Linked DNA regions of Homo sapiens: all the other regions are linked to region 4. The links are contacts of gene promoters, found by promoter capture Hi-C in blood cells and fetal thymus (Javierre and others, 2016). All regions are on one chromosome and are shown on one strand. Each heading gives the region's core, a stretch centred on a gene start or on the middle of the fragment in contact. The rest is flanking DNA. Distances are from core to core; before and after follow the strand shown. Region 1 overlaps TUBB4A (tubulin beta 4A class IVa). Region 2 holds the start of KHSRP (KH-type splicing regulatory protein). Region 3 holds the start of CD70 (CD70 molecule). Region 4 holds the start of ACSBG2 (acyl-CoA synthetase bubblegum family member 2).

Region 1 (2,859 bases), core at 330-2,829, 360 kb after region 4:
CTACTCGGGAGGCTGAGGCAGGAGAATGGCGTGAACCCAGGAGGTGGAGCTTGCAGTGAGCCGAGATCGCGCCACTGCACTCCAGCCTGGGCGACAGAGTGAGACTTTGTCTCAAAAAAAAAAAAAATGGAATAAAAAAAAGAATATTGGCCGGTATTACTGTGAACAGCTAACGTTTTCTTTCACCCCTCATCTGTCTCCACCTTAGTTCAGCTCCAGCATCACCCTCCTGGATAAGTTCAATTCCCTCTGTCCTGGTCCCCTGGCTCCTACCCTTATCACCCAGTCTGTCCTCTCCACAGTACCCACGAGAGGACACCTGAGAGCAAGTAAGTCAGGTCCCGTCCCTCCTCTGCCTACAGCCCTCCATGGCTCCCACCTACCTTGGGGTCAAAGCCCAAATCCTCCCTGCAGGCCACAAGGCCCTGCCGGACCTGCCCCATCCCCTCCCTCACTCTGCTTCAGCCGCAGCTGTTACTCCAGCTTTCCAGGTGTGGTCCTGCCCTGGGGCCTTTGCACTAGTGGCTTGGCTGCTTAGAATGCTTTCCCCCCAGGTATTCACCTGACTTTTTCCTCACTTCCTTCAGGTCTCAGCTCAATGCCACATCCTCAGAGAAGCCACCTCTGGTCACCCCCTCCCTCCTCCTCCCGAGCCTGGTGGTTTAGACTGCAGATTCTCGGGACTGACAAGACAAACTGTGTGACCTTGGACAAGTGACTTCCCCTTTCTGATCTGTTGGAAGATTTCAAAACATAATGATGCAGTTTTGTGGCCGTGGCCCATCATAGGTCCTTGGGAAATGGCTGGGTGAAATCAAGATGAAATGAGATTGGCCAAATGGTGTGAGTGATTTCAGGAGGACCAGAGGGCTTACAGTTGGGCCAAGAGATTCTATGGCCTCTGGGTGGCCAGGGGGTGGGAGGAGCATTAAAAGTGTGGGCTCAGACCAGGCGCGGTTGCTCATGCCTGTAATCCCAGCACTTTGGGAAGCAGAGGCAGGCAGATCACCTGAGAGGTCAGGAATAGGAGACCAGCCTGGCCAACATGGCGAAACCCCGTCACTATTAAAAATACAAAAAATTAGCTAGGTGTGGTGATGCATGCCTGTAGTCCCAGCTACTCGTGAGGCAGGAGAATCGCTTGAATCTGGGAGGTGGAGGTTGCGTCACTGCACTCCAGCCTGGGCAACGGAGACTCCGTCTCAAAAAAAAAAAAAAGCGTGGACCTAGTAGTCAGACCCTCTCCTCTGGCTCCTGACAGCCCCAGTGGCTTGCAGTGTGACTTTCTGCAAGTGACCTAACGTCTCTGTGCCTCTGTTTTCTCACCTGTAAAATGGAAGTAAGAGGCGAGTTGCGGAAAAGATTCAGAGAGGCAGGACAGGTCCTGCATTTAGCACGTCTTACATGCTGGGAGTATTGGAGGCGGGTGGAGCCAGGGTGGGGACATGCAGCCAGCTGGAGCCAGGAAAGCTTTCCCGGAAGGATTGTCCCAGGGTGTGGACACCCCACTATCTTCACATATGCTGTTGCCTCCGTCTTAAACATCTTTCCTCCCTTCCATGCCCTTTGGCCAGTCCAAATCCTACTCACATTCTAGACTGCAGATAGTAATGAAAACAACGACAAATGCTTATTTACCTCTTTCTCTGTGTCAGGCATTGTTCTAAACTCTACACATATTCATGACTTTAAGCTTCACAATTTTTTTTTTTTTTTGGAGACGAAGTTTCACTCTTGTTGCCCACGCTGGGGTGCAGTGTCATGATCTTGGCTCACCACAACCTCTGCCGTTCAAGCAATTCTCTTGCCTCAGCCTCCCGAGTAGCTGGGATTACAGGCATGTGCCACCATGCCTGGCTAATTTTTTATTTTTAGTAGAGATGGGGTTTCTCCATGTTAGTCAGGCTGGTCTCAAACTCCCGACCTCAGGTGATCCACCCGCCTCGGCCTCCCAAAGTGCTGGGATTACAGGTGTGAGCCACCGTGCCCACCCTGAGCCTCACAATTCTAATAGCATTTTAGAATCCCTGTTTTATTTGATCTTTTTTAGAGATGGGGTCTCACACCATCGCTCAGGCTGGAGTGCAGTGGCACCATCATAGCTCATGGCAGCCTCAACCTCCCAGGCTCAAGTGATTCTCCTACCTTAGCCTCACGAGTAGCTGTGACTACAGGTGCACACCACCTCACTCAGCTAATTAAAATTTTTTTCTTTTTGTAGAGACAGGGTCTCACCATGGTGCCCAGGCTGGTCTCGAACTCCTGACCTCAAGCTCTCTTCCTGACTCAGCCTCCCAAAGTCCTGGGTTTATAGGCATGAACCACCATGCCCAGTGAAATCCCTGTTTTAAAGACGAGGAGGCCGGGCAAGGTGGCTCATGCTTGTAATCCAGCACTTTGGGAGCTGAGTTGGGTGGATCGTTTGAGTCCCGGAGTTTGAGACCAGCATGGGCAACATAGAGAGACCCACCTCTCTACAAAGAAAACTAAAAAATTAGCTGGGTGTGGTGGTGCATGCCTGTAGGTCCAGCTACTTGGGAGACTGAGGCAAGAGGATCACGTGTGCCCAGAGGTGGAGGTGACAGTGAGCCGTGATCATGCCACTGCACTCTAGCCTGGGTGACAGCAGGACAGACAGACCCTGTCTGAAAAAAAAAAAAAAAAGAGGATTTTTGAGGCCCAGAAAGGCTGAGGAGCCCATCCTAAGTTATCCATCTGAATCAACCCCTGGCAGAGCTTTACTTATTTATCTCCTTTGTGGCCTATCACCTTCTACCAGAATGGGAGCTGCACTGGGGCAGAGAGGGAGCTCCGGCTGTTTGATTCTTACCTGGATCTCCAGCTTCTAGAACAGGGCCT
Region 2 (3,071 bases), core at 124-2,623, 290 kb after region 4:
CTCCATTTTTCTACGCTGCCCTAGAGCCAAAACTCATGGGATGCCCACAGGGGGCCTGTCCCCACCAACTGACAGCACCAGCTTCCTCCCTTCAAGCTGTCCCAGAATCAGACGGTTCCATGGGCAATAAGACCAAATGCACGCTAGAACCCACCCAACTCCAAGGGTGAGAGAGACGACAGAGGGCCAGAACACAGGCGTTCACTTAACGGGACCTCCCACCTTGGGAGGAGCCAGTCTCTAGCCCCGGAGGCATTGGGACAGCCCAGGAGCCGGTCGGCGGCAAAGTCCTCCCATTCTACCGACCCCCACCCCTCCAGGCCATGGGGAGGCTGCAAATGGAGCTGGAGAGGTCAGTCCTAGCAGCATGTGACACTTCCTTGTCATTACGCCTCAATACACGGGGGTGGGAGACCCTCCCTTCTTTCCCCCAAAGAGACAGACCACGCTTTCAAGCCACCAAAGCATCCAAGAGCCAGTCCCCATGCTCGTCTTCCCCATTTCGCCCAAGTGCTCAGCCCTAGACAGGTCCCCATCCACTTTCCCGACTGAAGAGGAAGGACTGTCCCTCCCACCCCCACAATGTCCCTTTCTCCTAGAGAGGGGACAGAAATGGGACTGGGTTGGGGGCAAACACTGCCCTTTGCCCTGATATGGAGGGGAGAGTAAAGGCCCTCCGCCCGGGAAGGTGGACCCCTGCCTCCAGGCATGTCCTAAGGCCGGGGGGCTAAGGGGGGGGTCCCAAAAGTGCGTCTCCGAGCTCCGGGGCGCCTGCACACCCAGGCGCCGCTCCTGGTGACCCCCAGTGCGCCCCTACTCCCTGCAGGGGGGTCACCCGTTGGGATCCCACTCGAGGCGCAGCGGGAGGGCCAGGCCCCCGCCTACCGCCCACGTGACCCCGCGACGGCCCCGGCCCCCCTCCGCGACCCTGCGCGCGCGCGCGCACGTGACCCCCGCCCCCTCCCCCGCCTGCGCGCGCGCGCGAGCGCGCCCCTCAGGCCCTCGGCCTCCTCACCTGGCGGGCCCGCTGCACGGCGTCGGCGAAAGCGTCCTTGCGGATTCCCGGGCCGCCTCCGCCGGGTGGCTGAGAGGGGCCCCCGGCCGACCCCCCGCCCGGGCCGCCGCCGCCGGGACCGCCGCCGCCCCGGTCCCCCGCGCCTGGCGGGCCCGGCGGAGGGCCTCCCCCGGCGCCTCCGGCTCCCCCGCCCCCGCCGGCGGGCGGCGGCGGCCCGGGCGGGGGTCCTCCCGTGCTGTAGTCCGACATGGCGCGGCGGGGCCGGGCCTGGCGCGGAGGCTGAAGCTGAGGAGGCGGCGGCGGCGGCGGCGGCTCAACGCGGGAACAAGGCCTCGCTCCACACGGCCGCGGAGCACTCTGGGAACCCAGCCGCTGGGAGGACGACGAGGGGGGAGAGAGTCGCCCCTCCCGCCGCCGACGTGACGGACGACTCCGGCGGGCCAATGGGAGGCAGCCGCCGCACCCCGGACACCAATCGCGAGCTCTGTAGGAGGTGGCCAATCGGAGTGCAATGAGGGGCAGTGGGCGGGAGGCTCAGAGTGACTGACAGCTCTCAGAGGCAATAGCTGCGAGCTGCCCGTGCTGGGCGGGCAAATGAAGGAGATCTGAGAAGGCAGGAGGCCCAATGAAACGCGAGTGCCAGATTCGCGGGGCGGCTTCAGAATTAGATTGACGGTTCTGAAGAGTCACGTGGACTGTAAGGCCGGGCCTAGTGGAAGACTCCTATGGACCGGCTGGGTGGGCGTTAGGTTTGATAGTCGTGGACACAAGCCAATGAATGCACGTGAGAGGTGGTGCTTGTAAAGATGGGCAGCCAATTAATCCAATTCCTGACGAGTTCTGGGTGATGAGGTTGGCTTTGGACTTTAATTGCTTCCCTTGTTAACCAGAATCCTTTTCTATCCCTGACTTCTAAGCCAATGGCTGAGCGACATGGGTGGGTGTTCGGTGACTGACACTGGTCTGGACAAATGGGAATGAAGGAAATCAAAGCGCCCACTTTTGGTGGGAGCCAGTGGAAGCGCCGCTGCATTGGGGCGGAGTCGGCCACCAGACAGCGAGGGGATTAGCGGGAACTGTAGTGAATGGCAGCCGACGTGGGCGGTGGCAATCGGCTGCCCGAACTCAGGCCTGATGTCTGGGTTAGCTCACCGGCAGCCTGGTTGGGTAGGCCCGGCACGTGGCCCGCTTGAAGCCTTAGAGATCGAGCGCTTCCGGAGGTGGGGAGGCCGGAAAGCAGGAAACTCGGGATCCCCCGGGCCTTCTTCTCTCTCGACCCCCCATCTAGAGCGTCCAGTTCTCTTGCAGGACTCAAGGAACCAGCCCCACTCACGAGTCCAGAACCGTTCCAACAACCGGGATCGAGGGATCACAGCCTCGATCACACCCCTCACTTCACACCCCTCACTCCCTTCGCCTAAGGCCCTGGGATCCAAGCCTCAAGCTCCTATCCTAGGTCCTCACTTCCTCTCCTGGACACAAATTCCCATTCAGGACCCAGAGGCCCAAGGTCCCCAGCTCCCCTACTGGGTCCAGGGATCTCATGCACCCAGTTCCACTCCTAGGCCCAAGTATCCAGACACGTTCAGCAAAAACCATCTCTTTATTCCTTGTTGTGTGACATGTTCACCATTTCGCCCTGGAGCCAGGACGACCCACAAGGGGCCAGACTGGAGTCCACGTTTCTTGTCTCAGGCTGCACCCTGGGGAGGGAGTCCCAGGAGTTTTCTGACCCAGCACTGCCCCCCTCCACCCACCACCAACCCCAGCTTCAGGAATCTTCTGACCCAGAGCCCCACCCCCACCCCCAGCCTGCTTTTGCCACCAAAAACTGCCCCAGGGCCTGAACCTTGAGGCCTCGAGGGCTCTTTGGGGCCAGGGGTCATCAGGTCCTCCTGTCCCATTTCTGCCTAGGCTGTGTCGTCCAGCTCACAGCCTATATGCCCAGGGTTTTCTTCATGGCTTCGTACACCACATAGCTGATGCCACCTGCTGGTAAGACCTTCAGTAGCGTGGGGGTCATGCCTCGGTACAGCCCTAGCCAGCCCTGCTGGGC
Region 3 (2,814 bases), core at 55-2,554, 460 kb after region 4:
CTGTCCCGTCTGTCCCCTCTGTCCCTCTCTCTGTTCTTTTTTCTGTCTCTCCCTCCCTTTCTCTGGGCCTCTCCCTCCCTCTCTGTCTTCTCTCTGTCTCCCCCTCTCCGTTTCCCTCCCTATCTCTCCCTCCCTCTCTCCCTCCGTCTCTGTCTGTGTCTCTTTCTCTCTGTCTCTCCCCACTTGTCTTTCTACCTCTCCTTCCTTCTCTCTCTGTGCCTCTTCTTCTCCCCGTCCCTCCACGTCCCCCGTGTTACCTGTGTGATTCAGCTGCAGCTCAGCTACGTCCCACTGGAAGAAAAGACCAGAAAACAGGGCACGGACGTAAGCAGAGAGGTTCTATGTGTCCCCTGTGCCAGGAGCTCTCTTTTCTCTGTCCATCCTCCTTTCCACCTCTCATCCCACGGCGCGCACTGGTGATTTTATTTCATTTTATTTTTTTTTACTCTTAAGACTTCTTAAAGAGGAAGCAGGTCTGAACCAGCGGGGAACGTGAAGTCGAGACCTTCAAAAGAACTTCTTCGTTTCCCGAATCGTTTTCCTGGATGTCACTGGGCGCGAGAGCACCGCGCGCAGCGGACTCTCTACGCTGCAAAGGCGCCCGGCGCGGTCCCCAAAGGGACCCCTCCCCCACCCGGAGCGAGTGGCTGGGGCCATCCCGTCCTAGGAGGCCCCAGGAAGCCCCCACGCCCAGCCTTGTGAAGCCCCCAGCAGCCTCTGAGTCAGCCTGCCGGGGGAACACCAGAGCCGAGTCATCTTCCATTTCCATGTGTGCCTACCTTTCCCATCCCGGGATCTCCCTGTACCTCCTGGCAGGGCTGCCTGTCTCGTAGCCCCTACACCGGGCAGCCTGGTCCCCGCCTCGCCTCCCTGTTCTGGTCTCTGTCTCTGCCCTACCAGATCTTCCTCTCTGGCCTCTTTGTACCCATCTCATTCTGTCTTTTCGGTCACGCGCCTCTCTATGTTTTCTTCCCAACTTTTCCATCTCAACTCACCCCAAGTGACTCGAGCGGCAGCTGCTGCTGAGCCTGTGCGAAGCGCTGGATGCACACCACGAGGCAGATCACCAAGCCCGCGACCAATGGGACCAAAGCAGCCCGCAGGACGCACCCATAGGGCCTGCGCCGCACCGAGCAGCCCGAACCCTCCTCCGGCATCGCCGCGGCGATCACCTCCGCTAGCGCAGGAGGGGCGATGGGGGCGCGGAGCGCTGCCGAGAAGGAAGGAAGGAAACTGCAGCCCCCTCCCGGGGCTCCTGGGCGTCTACTTGCTTCAACCTGTCAGGGGACCAGCCTGCCCCTCTCTGGGGATGTCCGGCCGGTCGAGGGGAGGGACTTGAGCAATTGGCGAGGGGAAATTCCCTCCAACCGCTGCCAGTCTGAAGATCCTAAAGTGGGTGGAGGCAGTTGCCAGGATGCAGGCAGTGGCCCCGGGTGAGCCTCAGAGTTGCCTGCCCCCAACCCCTCCCCGCCCGACCTTCAGGCAGGAGACATTCAATCTTCCTATTCCCCTCTCCACCTCATTCTTCTGGGGCCCATTCATTTATTCAACAAACCTCCACTGCACATTTATTAGGGATTAGATTGTGCTGTGCACTGGGGATACAGCAGACATCCAAGAATTGGGGGTGCTCCCCAAATATTCGTGTACCCCTCTCCTGCATTTTTTTGATTTGTTTTGTTTTTGAGACGGAGGTCTCCCTCTGTCACCCAGGCTGGAGTGCAGTGGCGCCATCTCAGCTCGCCGCAACCTCGATCTCCTGGGTTCAAGCGATTCTCCTGTCTGAGCCTCGCGAGTAGCTGGGAGTAACATGCGCGCGCCACCATGCCTGGCTAATTTTTTGTATTTTTAGTAGAGATGGGGTTTCACCATGTTGGCCAGGCTGGACTTGAACTCCTGACCTTGGGTGATCCACCCGCCTTGGCCTTCCAAAGTGCTGGGATTAAAGGCATGAGACACTGCACCCGGTCAGTTATCTCCTGCATTCTTGGAGACCACCTGCTTTTTTGTTTAAAGTTAAATTAAGTTAATATTTTTATTTTTTATTTTTATTTTATTTTATTATTTATTTTTTTTTTTTTTGAGACAGAGTCTCGCTCTGTCGCCCAGGCTGGAGTGCAGTGGCGCCATCTCGGCTCACTGCAAGCTCCGCCTCCCGGGTTCACGCCATTCTCCTGCCTCAGCCTCTCAAGTAGCTGGGACTACAGGCGCCCGCCACCACGCCCGGCTAACTTTTTGTATTTTTAGTAGAGATGGGTTTTCACCATGTTAGCGAGGATGGTCTCCATCTCCTGACCTCGTGATCTGCCCGCCTTGGCCTCCCAAAGTGCTGGGATTACAGGCGTGAGCCGCCGCGCCCGGCCTAAATTAATATTTTTAGAGACAGAGTGTTGCTCTGTTGCCCAGGCTGGATGCAGTGGCGCCACACAGCTCACAGCAGCCTCAAACTCCTGGGCTTCAGTGACCCTCCCATCTCAGCCTTTTGCATAGTTGGGTCTACCAGCACACGCTACCATGCCCGGCTAATTTTTTTTTTGGGGGGGGTAGAGGATAGGGTGTTACTATGTTACCAGGCTGGTCTCAAACATCTGGGCTCAAGCGATCCTGCTGCGTAGGTCCCCCAAAGTGCCGGGATGACAGGTGTGAGCCACCGCATCCAGCCTCCTGCTGCTGTTCTCGATGGCTGTAGTGGGTTAACGGTGTCCTCCCAGAATTCATGGCCTCCTGGAACTGCAGAATATGACCTCATTTTGAAATTACGGGGTTTTTTTTGCAGATATAATTAGGCTTAAATGAGGTCATACTGGATTAGAG
Region 4 (3,210 bases), core at 250-2,749:
ATCACCTGAGGCCACGAGGTGGAGACCAGCCTGGCCAACATGGTGAAAACCCATCTCTACTAAAAATACAGAAAATTAGTCGGGAGTGGTGGTGCATGCCTGTAACCTCAGCTACTTGGGAGGCTGAGGCAGGAGAATCGCTTGAACCCGGGAGGCAGAGGTTGCAGTGAGCCAAGATCACGCTATTGCACTCCAGTCTGGGCAACAAGAGCCAAACTCCGTCTCTCTCTCTCTCTCACACACACACACAAAAGGCCCTGGAGACAAAGGAACACTCCTTGTCCTTTTCTCCTGGCACAGCACAAGATTCTGTTGCTACATCTTTATTTACTGAGCATCTAGTATGTGCTGCACCTGGCACTGTTTTGTCTTTTTTGTTTTGAGACAAGGTCTTGCTCTGTAGGCCTGGCTGGAGTGCCATGGTACCATCACAGCTCACTGCAGCCTGGAACTCCTGGGCTCAAACAATCCCCCCACCTCAGCCTCCCTACTAGCTGTGGTTACACTTGCGCACCACCACGCCCGGCTAATTTTTTAAATTTTTCTGTAGAGACGGGGTCTTACTACATTGCCCAGGCTGGTTTTGAACTCCTGGCCTCAAGTGATGCTACGGACTTGGCCTCCCAAAGTGCTGGGATTCCAGGCACAAGCCACTGTGCCTGGTAGTGGACATTGTTAGCAGTGACTAAAGCAGAGAACGAGAAGGGGGAGGCCGCTGTAAACACATGAAGACAGGCAGCGTAAGAGAAAGTCACGAGGGCAGGAATAACATCCAGGCATACTTCAGATCCCAGCTCAAGAAACCACTCCCAGGCCAGGCGCGGTGGCTCACGCCTGTCATCTCAGCACTTTGGGAGGCCAAGGCGGGCGGATCACAAGGTCAGGAGTTTGAGACCAGCCTGGCCAACATGGCGAAACCCCGTCTGTACTAAAAATACAAAAGATTAGCCGGGCGTGGTGGCGGGCGCCTGTAATCCCAGCTACTCGGGAGGCTGAGGCAGGAGAATCGCTTGAACCTGGGAGGCAGACGTTGCAGTGAACTGAGATCGCACCATTGCACTCCAGCCTGGGTGACAGAGCAAGACTCCCGTCTCAAAAAACGAAAGAAAAGAAAGAAACCACTCCCAGACTCCCTGCCTGGGCGGGATCCTTTGATCAAGCCCTCAACATGCCTTGGGGCTCTCTTCACAATGGTAAGTTTGCATTTGTTTGTGTGATTCTAGGCCTCCTCTTATTTTCTTGAACAGGCCTCATCTGGCTTTGTTCATCTTTATGTCTCCAGCATCCAGCACAATCCCTGCCATTAGGGTCATGGCTTCATAAAAACGTCACGAATGCAACGCAGAAGTGCATGCATGCATGAATAAATGAATGATGCATGAAAAGAGCAATCTCCCTGTCCTGGAAGCAGCTTCCCCTAGGGGTGGGGGTGGGGTGCGGAGGCAGGGGCAGCCAGTGATGTCACAAGAGGTGGCTGGGATGGAACGTTCTGGAAGGTTGAATGGGGTAGAAGGCCTGTTGTGGAGGGAAACCACCCATCCTCCTGCCTCCCACCACCACCATCATCCTGGCTGGACGGAGAGGGTGACGGGGGCTGGGAAGGGGCAGCTCATGTTCAGGTTTCCAGGAGGGGCTACCTGTTGACTGTCTTTGCAGGAAGAAGAAAACACCTGAGTGACCAGATGTCCCAGCTCCAGGTGCCTTGCCAGATGGCCAGAACCACACCTCTTGAAGAGTGACAGGTGCCAGTGGTATGGGAGAAGGGCATGCGTTTTCTTTTCTTTTTTTTTTGAGACAGGGTCTCACTCTTTTGCCCAGGCTATAGTGCAGTGGCACGATCTCAGCTCACTGCAACCTCTGCCTCCCAGGCTCAAGTGATACTCCCACCTCAACCTCCCAAGTAGCTGAGATTACAGGCGCCTGCCACCATGTCCAGCTAATTTTTTTTTTTTTTTTGAGACAGAGTCTTGCTCTGTTGCCCAGGCGCAATCTCGGCTCACTGCAAGCTTCGCCTCCCAGGTTCACACCATTCTCCTGCCTCAGCCTCCTGAGTAGCTGGGACTACAGGTGCCTGCCACCATGCCCGGCTAATTTTTTGTATTTTTTAGTAGAGATGGGGTTTCACCACATTAGCCAGGATAGTCTCAATCTCCTGACCTCGTGATCCACCCGCCTTGGCCTCCCAAAGTGCTGGGATTACAGGCGTGAGCCGCCATACTCGGCCTAATTTTTATATTTTTAGTAGAGATGGGGTTTCGCCATACCAGCCAGGCTGGTCTTGAACTTCTGACCTCAGGTGATCCACCCGCCTCGACCTCTCAAAGTGCTGGGATTATAGGCACGCGCCACCATGCCCAGCTAATTTTTGTATTTTTAGTAGAGATGGGGTTTCACCATGCCAGCCAGGCTGGTCTCGAACTCCTGGCCTCAAGCGATCCACCCGACTCAGCCTCCCAAAGTGCTGGGATTACAGGTGTGAGTCACCACATCTGAACCCTACATGGCCTTTTAAAATTGTGAAACATATAATGCATATAAAATAACACAAAGCATATCTGTACGATTTAATGAATAACGATAAATATCTGTGTGCCCTTTTCACTTCGTGAAATCGAATATTACTAGTAACTTACAAGTCCTCTGTAGAGAACTCCTGAGCTCAAGTGATCCACCTGCCACGGCCTCCCAAAGTGCTGGGATCACAGGTGTGAGCCTCCGCACCCGGCCGATCGTGTGATTTTTAACGTGCAGTTCCCTGATGACCAAAGCTACTGAGCATCTTGTCCAGGATTTGTAGCCCTTTCCAGGCTCCTTTTTTGTGAACTGCCTGTTTACATTTTTCATCATAAAACACTGGGTTGTTTACATTTGTCTTTTAAATCCAGAGTTCTTTTCATACTCCGGATACTAATTTTATTTGCCCATTTTGCATTGCCATAAAGTAATACCTGAAGATGGGCAATTTATAAAGAAAAGAGGGGCCTGGTGTGGTGGCTCACACCTGCAAATCCCAGCACTTTGGGAGGCCGAGGTGGCGGGGTTGGGGGGGGGGGGGGGGCTTGCTTGAGGCCAGGAGTTCAAGACCGGCCTGGGCAATATAGCGAGGCCCCCAGCTCTACAAAAATAAAAATAAAAATAAATTAGCCAGGCGTAGTGGCATGCTTCTGTAGTCCCAGCTATCTGAGGGGAAGAGAGTTCCAGGCAGAGGGC

What was found. Contacts are between HindIII fragments. The CHiCAGO score rates a contact against its expected background, and 5 or more counts as called.
Region 1: a fragment that was not itself captured here is called in contact with the fragment with the promoter of ACSBG2 in region 4 in 1 of 17 cell types (M0 macrophages); the score reaches 5.7 in M0 macrophages.
Region 2: a contact is called between the fragment with the promoter of KHSRP here and the fragment with the promoter of ACSBG2 in region 4, in 1 of 17 cell types (erythroblasts). The highest score is 5.3, in erythroblasts.
Region 3: a contact is called between the fragment with the promoter of CD70 here and the fragment with the promoter of ACSBG2 in region 4, in 5 of 17 cell types (M0 macrophages, M2 macrophages, erythroblasts and 2 more). The highest score is 8.9, in M0 macrophages.

What each region holds. Positions count from the first base shown.
Region 1 is chr19:6,498,098-6,500,956 of GRCh38, forward strand. All of the region lies in intron 3 of TUBB4A (tubulin beta 4A class IVa), which reads right to left. Among named protein-coding and RNA genes, the nearest start is that of TUBB4A, 2.8 kb to the right of the region's middle. The HindIII fragment of the contact is 223 bases long and covers 1,469-1,691 here.
Region 2 is chr19:6,423,438-6,426,508 of GRCh38, forward strand. KHSRP (KH-type splicing regulatory protein) reads right to left here and starts at 1,374. Exons shown (of 19, transcript NM_001366299.1): 1 at 1,016-1,374. The coding sequence starts at 1,264. SLC25A41 (solute carrier family 25 member 41) reads right to left here. Exons shown (of 7, transcript NM_173637.4): 7 at 2,600-3,071. The coding sequence ends at 2,952. RefSeq lists an enhancer at 1,682-1,801. The HindIII fragment of the contact is 19,014 bases long and covers 1-3,071 here.
Region 3 is chr19:6,589,846-6,592,659 of GRCh38, forward strand. CD70 (CD70 molecule) reads right to left here and starts at 1,305. Exons shown (of 3, transcript NM_001252.5): 1 at 996-1,305; 2 at 258-291. The coding sequence starts at 1,157. RefSeq lists enhancers at 205-574, 1,075-1,474, 2,545-2,814. The HindIII fragment of the contact is 5,862 bases long and covers 1-2,814 here.
Region 4 is chr19:6,134,168-6,137,377 of GRCh38, forward strand. It overlaps ACSBG2 (acyl-CoA synthetase bubblegum family member 2), which reads left to right and starts at 1,500. Exons shown (of 15, transcript NM_030924.5): 1 at 1,500-1,742. All of the region lies in intron 3 of LOC105372255 (a long non-coding RNA gene), which reads right to left. RefSeq lists enhancers at 464-1,367, 1,368-2,270. The HindIII fragment of the contact is 9,635 bases long and covers 1-2,004 here.